Linked DNA regions of Homo sapiens: all the other regions are linked to region 1. Evidence: promoter capture Hi-C in 16 types of primary human blood cells and fetal thymus (Javierre and others, 2016). All regions are on one chromosome and are shown on one strand. The core of a region is centred on a gene start or on the middle of the fragment in contact, and the rest is flanking DNA. Distances in the headings are between cores, read along the strand shown. Region 1 holds the start of NF2 (NF2, moesin-ezrin-radixin like (MERLIN) tumor suppressor). Region 2 overlaps TBC1D10A (TBC1 domain family member 10A). Region 3 holds the start of RNF215 (ring finger protein 215).

Evidence for each region. The method cuts DNA at HindIII sites, captures the fragments that hold promoters and counts their contacts. A CHiCAGO score of 5 or more calls a contact.
Region 2: a contact is called between a fragment that was not itself captured here and the fragment with the promoter of NF2 in region 1, in 2 of 17 cell types (fetal thymus and non-activated CD4 T cells). The highest score is 7.3, in fetal thymus.
Region 3: a contact is called between a fragment that was not itself captured here and the fragment with the promoter of NF2 in region 1, in 2 of 17 cell types (fetal thymus and neutrophils). The highest score is 5.9, in fetal thymus.

What each region holds. Positions count from the first base shown.
Region 1 is chr22:29,600,445-29,605,537 of GRCh38, forward strand. It overlaps NF2 (NF2, moesin-ezrin-radixin like (MERLIN) tumor suppressor), which reads left to right and starts at 3,189. Exons shown (of 16, transcript NM_000268.4): 1 at 3,189-3,668. The coding sequence starts at 3,555. RefSeq lists an enhancer at 2,575-2,704 and a silencer at 2,955-3,534. The HindIII fragment of the contact is 9,228 bases long and covers 1-3,954 here.
Region 2 is chr22:30,307,840-30,312,297 of GRCh38, forward strand. The region is part of intron 1 of TBC1D10A (TBC1 domain family member 10A); the gene reads right to left. Among named protein-coding and RNA genes, the nearest start is that of TBC1D10A, 17 kb to the right of the region's middle. RefSeq lists enhancers at 801-860, 921-1,010, 2,077-2,126. The HindIII fragment of the contact is 5,585 bases long and covers 1-4,458 here.
Region 3 is chr22:30,387,046-30,392,187 of GRCh38, forward strand. RNF215 (ring finger protein 215) reads right to left here and starts at 366. Exons shown (of 9, transcript NM_001017981.2): 1 at 1-366. The coding sequence starts at 268. RefSeq lists a silencer at 106-465 and an enhancer at 4,459-4,648. The HindIII fragment of the contact is 6,025 bases long and covers 1-5,142 here.

The DNA.
Region 1 (5,093 bases), core at 1,939-4,438:
ACACTCCACCACACAGGCTAATTTTTTTTTCTTTTTTTTTGAGATGAAGTCTTGTTCTGTCACCTAGGCTGGAGTGCAATGGCATGGTCTCAGCTCACTGCAACCTCTGCCTCCTGGGTTCAAGCGATTTTCCTCTCTCAGCCTCTGGAGTAGCTGGGATTACAGGCGTGCGCCACCACGCCCGGCTAATTTTTTTTGTATTTTTGTAGAGACGGGGTTTCACCATGTTGGCCAGGCTAGCCTTGAACTCCTGATCTCAAGTGATCCACCTGCCTCCGCCTCCCAAAGTGCTGGGATTACAGGTGTGAGCCACCACACCTGGCACACACTGGCTAAATTTTTACTTTTTTTTGTAGAGATGGGGTCTTACTATGCTGCCCAGGATGGTCTCGAACTCCTGGCCTCATGTGATCCTCCAACCTTGGTCTTCCAAAGTGCTGTGATTACAGGTGTAAGCCACTGTGTCCAACCTGTGAATGGCACTTTTAATACCAGCAAAAGATTCTATCACATCGATTTTTATTCCTGGCCCTGACCTCCCTTCTGGGATTCAAACCCATATGTCCAGCTGGATGTCCTCCCAGGAACATTAAATTTGGCATTTGGGGCCAATTAGCCCAGTGCCTAGCACCTGGCAAGTCTTTTCATAAAAATGAGCTATTACCAATCATCAGTGTCGCTTTTTAGTCCCTGCTAGCTGATCCACCTCCTTTTGCTACTCCTCACTGGGTTCCCAGTGTCACGCATTTTCTTTTTCCTTTTTTTTTGAGACGGAGTCTCGCACTCTCGCCCAGGCTGGAGTGCAGTGGCGCCATCTCGGCTCACTGCAAGCTCCGCCTCCCGGGTTCACGTCATTCTCCTGCCTCCGCCTCCCGAGTAGCTGGGACTACAGGCGCCCGCCACCACGCCCGGCTAATTTTTTGTATTTTTAGTAGAGACAGGGTTTCACCGTGTTAGCCAGGATGGTCTCGATCTCCTGACCTTGTGATCTGCCTGCCTCCCAAAGTGCTGGGATTACAGGCGTGAGCCACTGGGCCCGGCCCGGTGTCACGTATTTTTATCAGCAGCCATTTGTTGTCCCTGTGGGGAGCCCAGAAAACCCAGCCCGGTTCTCCCACCTGCGGGGAAGAAATGAAGCAATGATAATGAAGACACTCCCATGCCAAGCCCATACTGCCCTGAGCAATCAGTTTTGGTGGGGAGAATTTGCTAGCAGAAGGCAGGACATAAAGTCCCCACAGCAGCCTCACTGGGTGTGGCAGCAAATCATTCCTGAGGCCTGGCCGGTGCTACCAGGCACAGCAGGGGTCCGTGCAGAAGAACTAGATTTATTCCATTAATATACCGTTACAGCAACAATGTCTGCTGAGTACTCCGGAACTGTAATTCACATTTCCTGAGGCTGTAGTAGGGAGAATTTGGAAGCAGGGCAGCACAGTGCTAACCAGCAGGCTCTGGGTGGGACAGACCTGGGTTTGAGTCCTAGCTTTGCCTTTCACTATCTGCATTATAGTCAGCGAGTGGCTCTATCATATCTCTCAGTATCTTCACCTGTGGAGTTGGGGGGGTGATGCTAATGTTAGCTAACATTTATGGGGTGATTATTGTTGTTAAAACTCAGTACACCGGGCGCGGTGGCTCACGCCTGTAATCCCAGCACTTTGGGAGGCCAAGGTGGGCAGATCACCTGAGGTCAGAAGTTTGAGACCAGCCTGGCTAACATGGTGAAACCCCGTCCCTACTAAAAATACAAAAATTAGCCGGGCGTGGTGGCGGGTGCCTGTAATCCCAACTACTGGGGAGGCTGAGGCAGGAGAATTGCTTGAACCCGGGAGGCGGAGGTTGCAGAGAGCCGAGACCGCCCCATTGTACTCCAGCCTGGGCAACAAGAGCGAAACTCTGTCTCAAAACAAAAAACAAACGAAAAAACACAGTAAATTGTCCCTATTTGACTACTAAGAGCTATTTTAAAATAGAATTTATTATCTAAGTACAGAAAGGTGTAATTATCCCCCCTACACCCGTTAGAACCCTTGATGACACTAAATAAATAATACATGAATACGGTTCAAAAATGGGCATCATAGAGTATAAAATAAAGAATGCTTTCATTTTCAACCCAAATTCAGCAATTTCATAGGATGCCAGGCTCAGCTCTAAAGCCTTATATGTATTCAGTGCGCTGAAATTCAACAACCTCACGAGGTAGGTATAACCAATAATAATTCTAGGCGGGGCGTGGTGGCTCACGCCTGTAATCCTAGCACTTCGGGAGGCCGAGGCGGGCGGATCACCTGAGGTTCGAGACCAGCCTGACGAACATGGAGAAACCCCGTCTCTAATAAAAATACAAAATTAGCCGGGCGTGGTGACGCATACCTGTAATCCCAGCTACTCGGGAGGCTGACGCCGGAAAATCGCTTGAACCCGGGAGGCGGAGGTTGCAGTGAGCCGAGATCGCGCCACTGCACTCCAGCCTGGGCAACAAGAGCGAAACTCCGTCCCAATAATAATAATAATTAATAATAATAATAATAACAATAATAATAATAATTCTAAAGGGAAGCAGAGGGATCTGGCGGGAAAGTGCCAGCAAACCTAACAGGCCTCCACAAGTGTCTTTAAAGTTTCATAGGGGTCGGTATATGTGATTAACTGCCAAAGAAGAATATTCGCCGTGTGTCCGAAACGCAGTCCCCTGGGGCGCCACACTCGGAGCCTACTTGAACCGAAGAGTCCCTCCCTGGGCCAACGAAGGACCCAATTCCCCTCGCCCCGGATCCAGCCTCTAAGTGGTTTCCCGGGTAAGGTCAGCAGAGGTCCGCCGCCTCAACCAGTCTTGTTAGAGTAGGCACAAAAGCATTCAGAGTGACTGCCACTGTAGCCACTCAACGCCGAGCCTAGGCCTGCTTTTTTTGCAGTTAGAGTGAAACTTTCCATTGGTGGAGTCACCCCAAAGGAGGCGGGACGGAGCGGGAAAGTCCTGCCTACCTTGGCCTTCCCAGCCAATCGCAGCATCTATGCGTCAGCCTCCGGTTCGGTTGCGCTGCGCGTAGTGGTCTGGGCGACCTGAGGGCGGGGCCGGGAGCAGGCCCCGGGCTGTGGGGAGGGTGCGCTTCCCGCGGGCGCGCGGAGTGAGGACGGTGACAGCCACGCGCGCGCGTACGCGCCCGATGCAGCGCGGCCCCGTGACCCTAGTCGGCCGCTGAGAGGCGCGCGGAGTCTGGGCCGCTGCCGTCTAGGGGTCCCGTCCCGAGGCGTCCCCGGCATCTCCGGCCCGAATCCCGGAGTGCCGGGTCGCGCCTGCACCGAAGGTCCCGGCTCCTGTGCCCTCCCTGCAGCCGTCAGGGCCCGTCCCCCAACTCCCCTTTCCGCTCAGGCAGGGTCCTCGCGGCCCATGCTGGCCGCTGGGGACCCGCGCAGCCCAGACCGTTCCCGGGCCGGGCAGCCGGCCACCATGGTGGCCCTGAGGCCTGTGCAGCAACTCCAGGGGGGCTAAAGGGCTCAGAGTGCAGGCCGTGGGGCGCGAGGGTCCCGGGCCTGAGCCCCGCGCCATGGCCGGGGCCATCGCTTCCCGCATGAGCTTCAGCTCTCTCAAGAGGAAGCAACCCAAGACGTTCACCGTGAGGATCGTCACCATGGACGCCGAGATGGAGTTCAATTGCGAGGTAACCGGCCGGCAGCCCCGACTGCTGCGGTGACAGTCGAGGTGGAAGCTCGAGAGGTTCTCTTTATATCATCTTATGGGTGTAGCTAGAGACGGGCAGAACCGGAAGGGCCAACTAGGCCCAAAACCTCATGTTAAAGATGATTGCTGCTTTTTTTCATAGGACTTTTGGGTTTTGGCATTTCCTGAAGGTTATTTTCATTCATTGTTATTGGAAGAAGCTGGATGCTCCTGTGATAGAAAATTCAGGATTTCAGTGTCAGGCTTAAGTTAGGCTTACGCTTAAAAGCTTGAAAGTTTATTCTTTCATTAGGTAATATTGTTATGTACCCAGGTATTAGAAGTTGCGTCTTGTTTATTGGAAAGCCAATACTTGTTTCCCTTTTCTAAAGCTTGCATATTCTGGGAAAAAAAACCCTTTGAAGAACGATATAACATCTCATACTTACTTTCCACATAGTTTCCAACATGATGATAACAGCTATCAATTGTTCAGTATTTTCAAAGTGCTAGACATTTGCACATTTAATCCTCAGAACAAACCCATTTATCTAGTAAATGGCAAGGTGGGGTTTTGAACCAAGCTCACAGCCCGTACAGTACTGCTTCTCAAGTAATTTAAGTTCTTGCTGCTAAAAGTGTGGTTTGTGGACCAGCAGCATTGGCAGCAGTAAGCAAGGGTTGGCATGCTTTTTCTGTACAGGACCACATAGTAAATATTTTCAACTTTGTAGACTAGAGAATCTCTGTTGGAGTTATTCAACTCTTCAACTCTACCATTGTAACACAAAAGCAGCCTTAGATAAGATCAGCTTCCAGCATGACAGCTTAAGGAACCCATTCCTCTGTAAAACTGGTGAAAATTCTTTTTTGTTTTGTTTCGTTTTGAGACAGAATCTCACTCTGTCACCGAGGCTGGCATGCAGTAGTGTGATCATGGCTTACTGCAACCCTGACCAACCTCCCTGGCTCAATCAGTCCTCCTGCCTCAGCCTCTCGAGTAGCTGGGACCACAGGCGTGTGCCACCACACCTGGCTAATTTTTTTTTTTTTTTTTTTTTTGAGACGGAGTCTCGCTCTGTCACCCAGAGTGCACCGGGCTAGAGTGCAATGGCGCGATCTTGTCTCACTGCCACCTCCACTTCCAGGTTCAAGTGATTCTCCTGCTTCAGCCTTCCAGGTAGCTGGGATTACAGGCGTGCGCCACCTCGTCTGGCTAATTTTTCTATTTTTAGTAGAGACAGGGTTTCACCATATTGGGCAGGCTGATCTCGAACTCCTGACCTCGTGACCAGCCGACCTGGGCCTCCCAAAGTGGTGGGAAAGTGGTGCGATTACAGATGTGAGCCACCCCGCCCAGCCTCACCTAGCTAATTTTTGTAAAGACAGGGTTTTGCCATGTTGCCCAGGCTGATCTTGAACTCCT
Region 2 (4,458 bases), core at 1,154-3,653, 710 kb after region 1:
GCTGGAGTGCAATGGCGCGATCTCGGCTCACTGCAACGTCCGCCTTCCGGGTTTAAGTGATTCTCGTGCCTCAGCCTCCCGAGTAGCTGGGATTACAGGCGCCCACCACCACACCCAGCTAATTTTTTGCATTTTTAGTAGAGACAGGGTTTCACTATGTTGGCCAGGCTGGTCTTGAACTCCTGACCTCAGGCGATCCACCCGCCTCGGCCTCCTGAAGTGTTGGGATTACAGGCGTGAGCCACAGCGCCCGGCCCATTCTCCCCATTTTAAAGTAGAATCCAAGGCTTAGTAATGTTAAGAGTGTTTTAAGACCATGTAGCTATAAGTGGCAGAGCTGGGACTCAAACCCAGGCCTGACTGACTCTACAGCTCATGCTCTTGACCCTTGTACTACACTTCTCTGCCTCCACAGGCCAAGCCCTCAGCCTCCACACAGCCTGCATGCCTGCATGCCTGCATGCCTGCCTGCCTGCATGCCTGCATGCCTGCATGCCTGCCTGCCTGCCTGCCTAGATCTCGTAAAATGTCCTCCAACCTGAAGATCTTCATCCTGGCTCAGAACACCATGTCTCATGCTTTTTAAACTGAGACCCACACAAACACAACACACATACACACACACAACCAGAATACATTTTAGGAAACGAGTTGCCCTTACATGTACTAATGCACTCTGATATTTCCAGATTGATTTTCTATTTTTCTATTCTATTGTTTTAAATGCTGGTCACAAGCCCCTAAAACTGATTTCAGCACCAACTGACAAATGAGTCAAGTCATTAAGTGTGAAATATGCACTTCATTACCACTTGCTCATATTACTCAGCACTGTCCCTCCCCAGCTGGACCGGGTCTTGAACTTCTTCTGTGACTCCTACCACACGCCCCAGGTGTTCAACAGCTGCCTGCCTGGCTTTCTCCATGACATCATTACCTTCATCTGCACTGCATCAGGGCTACAAGCTACTTCTGCCTTAGAAATTGTACGTGTCCCTCTAATAGCCCAGTGAAGTGGGGCCCTCACAGATTAATTACTATTTCCATTTGGACCATGACAGACTTGGCCTGATCAGAAAGGTTGTATGACTTGGACAAAGTCACAAAGCTAATAAGTAAGTAGCTGACCCAGGGCTTCCCCTCTGTCACAGTGACCTATATGCTATTTCCAGTTCCCTGGGGAAGGCTGTGGGGAAATCAGGCCCTTCTCCAGATGCTTCTGTGTGGCTCCATCTCTGGCGCCCAAGCCACTGGAGACAGTCTAACCCCCTCCTCCAGTGTTGTGACTGCCCCAGTGAGTGGCCTGCCCGTACCTAGCAATGCTCAGAGACACCAATACACTGGATGGGATGGTTTGCCAGCACAACCTCAGGTGCAGATGGTAAGCCTGGGTAATCTGCCATTTTTTTTTTTTTGAGACGGAGTCTTGCTCTGTCGCCCAGGCTGGAGTGCAGTGGCATGATCTCAGCTCACTGCAACCTCCACCTCCCGGGTTTAAGTGATTCTCTTGCTTCAGCATCCCAAGTAGCTGGGGCACCACCACACCCAGCTAATTTTTGTATTTTTAGTAGAGACGGGGTTTCACCATGTTGGCCAGGATGGTCTCAATCTCTTGACTATGTGATCCACCCGCCTCAGCCTCCCAAAGTGCTGGGATGACAGGCATGAGCCACCGCACCCGGCCAGGGCAATCTGCCATTTGCTGGCAACCCCAGCTTCTGAGGAGGAAAGGCTCAGAGGAGACAAAGGTGGCACCTAATCACAGATCTTGTCAGGCTCCTGGACTGGAACAGGCTTAGCCATGCTGTGCCACGTCATGGTCCAAGGCAGCAGTGACACTCTGCTGACCCCATTCTCTGTAGGTTCCCAGTTTCCTAGCGTTCTCCCAAAACCCAGAGGCTTGAGGCTTCCAAAAGTTCAGAAGGACAAGACTGCTTCCCAGGCTACTGAGACCAAGGGCTGGGGTTCTCTCTTCCCTTGTCCTTCTAGACATCTGCTTTCTGCCCAAGCACATCTCAGCACCTCTGGCTAGGCAGGTTCAGCAAGGGCAGTGTCCATGCTCATCACCTCCTTATCCTAGCCTGTCGTGGGAGATAAATCTTGATACCAAGGAACCCGTCTAAACCCTCCTCCAAGCCTCACTCCCTGAACCAGCCCAAACAAAGAGAAATACACCCTAAGCAGAAAGTCTGAGGTCACAGACCACAGGACTGATCCTCCTCTCACCCATAGGGGAAACCAGGTGGGGTGTAGGGGAGAATAAATAGAGTGGGGACTTGAAGTTAGCTGAGCTAGGTACTCCAGTTCTGCCATCTACTAACTGGGAGACCATGTGCAAAAAGTGACAACTTCTTCATCTTTCAGTGGGGTCATAACGCACACCTCATCTCTTATAGGGCTGCAATGAGGAATAAATGTGTACAAGGGCCCAGCCTGGTGGGTGGCCAGCAAATGGTAGCTATTAGGTGACTGGTATTTGCGGCTTAACTAGCAATTTCACATCTCTTTTCTCATCTGACTGGTCCCCATACACAGGCCTTTGAGGAAGGCAGGGCATGATTACCACCATTTTACTCATGAAGCAATTGAGGCTCTGAGAGATTACTTAATTTGCTCAATGGTAAACAAATTCTAACTCCTGGCCGCTGATCCAAGCTCTACCGCTTTACAGCTGTGTGAAACAGGGCTGGCTGCTTTGCTCTCTGAGCTTCCAGTTCCTCATCTGTAACCCAGGAGGAATGCCACCTCCTCAGAGAACATTGGTAAACATGATGTGAGGCAATTAAGAGCTGACACTTTCATGCGCTGGCCGTGTACTAGCTCTGCCAAGCACTACACAGGCACACAATCCCCCAAGGAAATAGCTTTAATTATCTCCATTTAATAGACAAGAACACTAAGATTCAGCACAGTGGAGTAATATGCCCAAGGTTACATAGCCTGGAAGTAGAGGCTGCCACCTGAGCACTAAACTATACAAGACATATAAAGTCCCCCGCTCATACCATGGCTTCAATCCCTGTCACATTCCCTTCCCTCTTCTTATCACCCTCTGTGCCGAGAAAGGCAGGGGTGAATAACGTGAAAAAAACCCCTCACACTTGGGTCTCCAGGATGGAGAGGAGGCAGTTGGAGGAAGTCCCACCAAAGTGTGGAAAATTGGGAAGTGGATGTGCAGGGGGAGCATGGCCAATCACCGATCCAGAGGGTTTCCCTCTCCACCCAGAGCCTGAAAGTGAAGTGAGGACAAACAAAAGGCTGACCTGTTTTGCATACTAGGCAACAACCTCTGGAGTTCACTACCCTAAGAGGTGGTAATGAATGAAGGTATAAATGGCTTTTAGACCAGTTCCATAAGAAGTGATGATGAGAAACCAAAGGCAGGAGAGGGTAGGCTGGTGGTGTGCAAATGGCTGTCAGGACTGGGAAACCTATGAGATCATGCAGTGAGGCCATCCCCTCCCCAGAAGGTAAGCGGTCTGCCTGACGCCACACACTCTGTGAGTTGGTAGGAAAAAGGAAGAGGGTCTGCAGCAGCCTGGCACTCCCTTCTGGGGCCCGGCCACCCCTGCCTAGGAGCCGGCTGGCAGTGTCCAGGCTCCCTGTCTGAGTGAGAGAGTCTGGCTTGCTTCACTCTCCCTCCTTCCCAATGCAGGCTAATTCTGGGGCTGCCTGTCTTTCCCATGAGGAATTCCCTGGCTCTGCTCCTTCTAGTGCTGGGTCAGTGCACAATGGTAAACAGGTTCTCTCCACCCTTCACTGGCCTTGGTGCCCTGGACCTCTGCCCAGCTCTCTACTCTGCTCAGCTCCACCCTACTCAGTGTGAGAAATGGTTCCTTTAGCACTAGCCTTGCTGGCTCCCAAAAAGAAAAACCAAGGTATCTACCTTCCTCTGATGCACTCATCTAGGGAAGGGCGTAGACCACAGAGAAACTCCCAAGCAGCTCTCCCTGACAACTGCAGAAAGGTATTAGATAGGGTCTTGCTCTGTCGCCCAAGATGGAGTGCAGTGGCATGATCTCGGCTCACTGCAGCCTCCGCCTCCTGGGCTTAAGCCATCCTCCCACCTCAGCCTCTCGAGTAGCTGGGACCATAGGCTCATGCTACCATGCCCCACTAAGTTTTGCATTTTTTGTAGAGACAAGGTTTCACCGTGTTGCCCAGGCTAGTCTCAAACTCCTGGGCTCAAGTGATCTGCCTGCATCAGCCTCCCAAAGTGTTAGGATTACGGGTATTAGTGACTGAGTGCCGCCTGAGACTATTCTCAACAGAAGACATCTTTTCTCCAAATCCCAGCTCCTACCAGGCAGAGTGCTGCTTGAAATTCCCTTGCTGGTGACTGAGTCCTTGGATCACAATCTCACTGCAGGCACCCAGGGGCCACCCTGACTCATCCTTACCAAACTGCTAGATCTCATTGATAGATCTTACCAAAATTAGTCTTGACTCACTGTTTAT
Region 3 (5,142 bases), core at 1,130-3,629, 790 kb after region 1:
CCAGCAGGGGCGCCGGGTCGGCTTCGGAGCCGATCCTGACGCCCTCCAGGACCAGAGCGTCCTGGCGCGGCAGTCTCACGTCCACCCGCACGGCGCGGGCTCCGCCCCGCCCCGCCCCGGCCGCCGGCTCGCTGCCGTCCGCCGCGGCCCCGGGCCCCGCCAGGCCCAGCCACAGCGGCAGCAGGGGCAGCAGCAGCAGCAGCGGAGACGGAGGCGGCGGCGGAGGCGGCGGCGGCGATCTCAGCGCGGGGCGAGCGGCGGGGCCCATGGCCGGACCCGGCGAGCTGGCCCAACAGTGGGGCCAGGGGTCCCGGGCGCGGGGGGGATCGGAGGGAGCGAGGCCGCTGCCGGACGGGGCGGGGCGCCGGGAGGGGCGGGGCCGCGGCCGGACGGGGCGGGGCACCAGGAGGAACGGAGTGGGCGCTTGGCGGCTCTCGCGCCCAGACTGGGCCGCGGGCGCCCCCTGGTGGCCGCGGAGAGCTCAGGTGCCCGCGGCTGAGGGAGCTGGAGAGGGGCAAAACCGGGGTCGCAGCGGGAAGGCGGAAAGTCAGAGAGAGGAGGTGCTTCGGCAGCGGACGCGTCAGCGGGGCAGACAGGAAAATAGTTGGAAAGGGCGACCTGGGGGAGCAGAGACACGATCAGAGCCTGAGAAGGGCAGGAGCAAGGGATGTCTAAGGGGCCTGGTGGCAGGCCCTTGTTCTGCGGCAGCCCCGTGGACCCACGGGGTGGCCAGGGCCAAGTCACATCCCTCTCTTCCCCGGTCCTCCCTGTCTCGACCCCACTAAACAGCAGGAGGCAGAGAACCAGAGACTGGCGTGGGAAGCCGACAGGGGAGATAGAGGGGCAGGGGAAAGGGGCTGGGGGGCAAGGCAAAACGAAGCAGGCAGGGACTCAGTGCCTCAGTGGGACCGAGAGGCTGGGTCACTTCCCTCATCTGTGAAATGGGCACCATAGGCCGGGCGCGGTGGCTCACGCCTGTAATCCCAGCACTTTGGGAGGCCGAGGCGGGCGGATCACCTGAGGTCGGGAGTTCGAGACCCGCCTGACCAACATGGAGAAACCCCGTCTCTACTAAAAATACAAAATTAGCCGGGCGTGGTGGCGCATGCCTGTAATTCCAGCTACTCAGGAGGCTGAGGCAGGAGAATCGCTTGAACCCGGGAGGCGGAGGTTGCGGCGAGCCGAGATCGCGCCATTGGAATCCAGCCTGGGCGACAAGAGTGAAACTCCGTCTCTAAATAAATAAATAAATAAATAAGCACCATGTACAATCAACACTGCCTCACCCCCAGCAAATAACTCAAATGTCTACTGGAATGTGGAAGTTCCACTACTGTTCTAAAACTTGTCCGTTTCTCCAAGGGTTGGGGCTGCTGGGAGCTGGCTCAGTCTGAAACCTGAGCCTTTAAAAATTGTATGGTGGGCAGGGCGCGGTGGGTCACGCCTGTAATCCCAGCACTTTGGGAGGCTGAGGCAGGCGGATCATGAGGTTAGCAGATCGAAACCATCGTGGCTAACAAGGTGAAACCCCGTCTCTACTAAAAATGCAAAAAAATAGCCGGGCATGTTGGGAGGCGCCTGTAGTCCCAGCTACTCGGGAGGCTGAGGCAGCAGAATGGCGTGAACCCGGGAGGCGGAGCTTGCAGTGACCTGAGATGGTGCCACTGCACTCCAACCTGGGCCAGATGAGCCACAACACTCTTTTTTCTCCAGAAAAATTGAAAGAATTTTACAGTGAACACCTGTAGGAACACTGATATGGGATGACCAAGTTGCTCCTGAAGAAGTGTGAGACGGGTATATAAGACAGCCCCCGATATCAGCCTAAAGACAGACAAATGGAACATGAAATAGGCCAGAAACTGACCCACACATCTAAAGATGGTGTACATCAGAGGAAACATTGTGTTTGTGGAGATACAAGGAGGCAGTAGCATGGACTGTTTGGTAAATTGTGCTAAGAAATTGAATTAACCATTAGGAGAAGAAATTAGACCCCTATTACATACACATCATATACAAAATATGAATTCCATATAGATTAAAGACCTAAATAAGAAAAGTAAAAGTTTAAGCATTAAAAAATTATTTATGCATTTATTTTTGAGACAGGGTCTCTCTCTGTTGCCCAGGCTGGAATGCAATGGTGCCTTCTCAGCTCATTGCAACCTCCAGGGTCAACTGATTCTCCCACCTCAGCCTCCAAAGTAGCTGAGACCACAGGGGTGTGTCACCATGCCCAGCTAATTTTTTTTTTTTTTTTTTTTTTTTTTGTAGAGACAGGGTTTCACCATGTTGCCCACGCTGGTCTTGAACTCCTGGGCTCAAGGGAACTGCCTGCCTCAGCCTCCCAAAGTGCTGGGCTTACAGGCAATAGCCACTGCACGTAGCTAGATTCTCTGTTCTGTTCCATTGGTCTATAGTAGTCTCCCCTTACCTGAGGTTTTAGTTACCTTCAGCCAACCGAGGTCCAAAAAAATATTAAATGGAAAATTCCAGAAATAAACAGTTCATAAGTTTTAAATTGCATGCTGTTCTGAGTAGCATGATGAAATCTCTTGCCCTTCCTCTCCATCCCTCCCTGGATATGAATCCTCCCCACGCTGTAAATGTTACCACCTGTTAGTCACTTAGTAGGCCTCAGAGTTATCAGATTGAAGAAACACAGTATGTTTTCAGCACTACCTGAGGTTTCCGGCATCCACTGAGGATCTTGGAATGTATCGCCCAAGGATAAAGGATCACTAATTGGATATGTTACTAACGTTTTTTCATATGTGGGAAAGCACTCTTCATAAGCTACAAAATGCACTGTGGAAGCCCCGTGGTGCCCGTGAAGAGGCTTGCTTCTCCATTTCTGTGACTGTCCCAGCCCATCTGTCAGCCCCAACAACAGGGTTGCAAGGATGCACCCTGTAATCAGCCAGGTCTTTGGCTCCATGTTCTGCCTGCCCTGTCCCCACTTTCTCCCTACCCTTCACCCCACTGACCTAGTCACCCCTCAACATACACACTCCAACCAGATGCAGGTCCTTGTTCACGCTTGTCCCCCACCTAGAACACAGTTCTGCTTCCCTACAAATATCCACATCCTAGCCTTCCATCAGTGGGAGCCGGAGCCCCCTTGCAAACTTGGTGGGTAACCAGTTCCCTGTGGTGTGTTCTTCCATGGGGTAACCCCTGGTTATCGCAGAAGGAACAAGAGCTGGAGGATGTTACCTCAACGTGGGTGGGTGTAGCTCAGCCCAGCCAGGGGCCTTCTGCTGCTTTGGGGTGAGGAGGGTTAGGGGGTGGGTAAAGAAACAGTAAAGATTGGAGCCAATGCTGGCGGGGGGCAGAGTGCAGTGTAAGCCCAGGAAGTGAGGCAGCCAAGGGTGGGAGATTGACTGCAAGGAGACGAGTGACCTTGAGGCCCTGCCTGGGAGTGGAGTATCTGAGGAGAAGGGGACTGGAGGACCCCAGAAGCGGGGGAAGGGATGCCAGCTAAGAGACATGCAGGCACCCTGCTCCCAGGGATGGACAACAGGACCCTCAGCCCTGTGGGCTCTCTCTGGAGTAGCCCAACCCGCAGATCCAAACTCCCAAGAGAGGGTGGGGAGCTAGAGCGGACAGGACTGTCACTCTCTCACCATGGGCCTCTGGGCAAGCCACTTCCGTTTTCTTGGCCTGTGTCCTCAGTTGTAAAATGGGAGCTTGGACTAAATGACTTGGGAGGGCCTTTCATCAGACATGCTGTGATTCCAAGTAGCTTGTTTCTTGGGATACAAGGTTTCCTGGCCCTGGGCTGGGCAGAGACCTGCATGGAGAAGGCCCCAATTCCTCTGTCTCTCCTTATTCTGTAAAGTTGCAGGGGGACCTAGGAAGAAACAAAGCTACTAATGAAAGTGTGAGGCATGGAATATGTTACCTCAGCAGTGGAAGGGGGTGGTGATGAGGATGAAATGTTTTAGAATTGGTACCAGGAATGGGGTGTATGACAAGGCCCTTGAATTCCGTGAACCTGAGCCCTCTGCTTCTCTTCCTTTGCTGTGAAATGAGTTATTTGGTCACACACCAGGCTGTGCAAATGCCAAAAAAAAGGCATTCCGTGAGTACACAGATGGTGGTGCTGGCAGAAGGATGAAGGGCAGGGAAGGCAAATCCACATCTAGAATATGTGTCTATTCCAGTGAGCATGAACCTGGGCCCCACCTATGAGGAAGAGGCCAATGTAATCAAGCTGCCACCAGGTGGCAGGCTGGTCCCTGGGGAATGTGGCCACATGGGGCCCAGTGACTTTGTTTTGTACAAAAAGGGCCTTGAAGCAGACAATGCCTAACTCATGGAAATGTGTCACCATCAGTGGGGGCTTCTGGCCCAGTGGCCACAGGGACGGCTAGGCCTGAGGTGGTGGTATTTTTAGAACATGGAGGTCCCTAAGATTCCTTTACCTTATGGACATGAGGCCCAGCACATAAAACAAGTTGTCTTAGAAGATCTTAAAGTGTCCCTTGATTGCCTAGTTCCATCTGCCACCTCCCTCCACTCACCCAGATGCTCAGAGGGTCGATGACTCACTCAAGATCACACAGGGCAGATGCAAAGTAGCCGCAGCTTAACTGTGGCATGGGCTGTAAAGTAGAGGGGGTCCTGCTCCTTCCTTGGGTCCAGCTCTCAGGGACAGGGTGAGCGTCATGCCCACAAATGGATATCAAAGGACTTCTCGGTGCTAGGCACTGGGCATGGAGCAGTGACCGTGACCAGCAATGGCTTCTGCCCTTGAGAACAGAGAGAAAACCATAACCACATACACAAGCAAGATCATTTCAGGCCACGGTAGGTGCCACAGGAATGAGATAAAATAGCCTCAGAGAGGGGCTGGGGGCCAGAGGCCACTTCAACCTCATTACCAGGGAAGGGAGACCTCTCTAAGAGGTGGTGTGTGGGCTGGCACCTGAATGGCAAGAATATTCAAGAGAAGAAACAGAGAATGCAAGTGAAAACAGCTGATACCAGCTGGGTACAGTGGGTCATGCCTGCAATCCCAGCAGTTTGGGAGGCCACAGTGGGAGGATCAGTTGAGGCCAAGAGTTCAAGACCAGCCTGGGCAACATAGTGAGACCCCCATCTCTACAAAAAGAAACCCACAAAAAATTTAAAAAA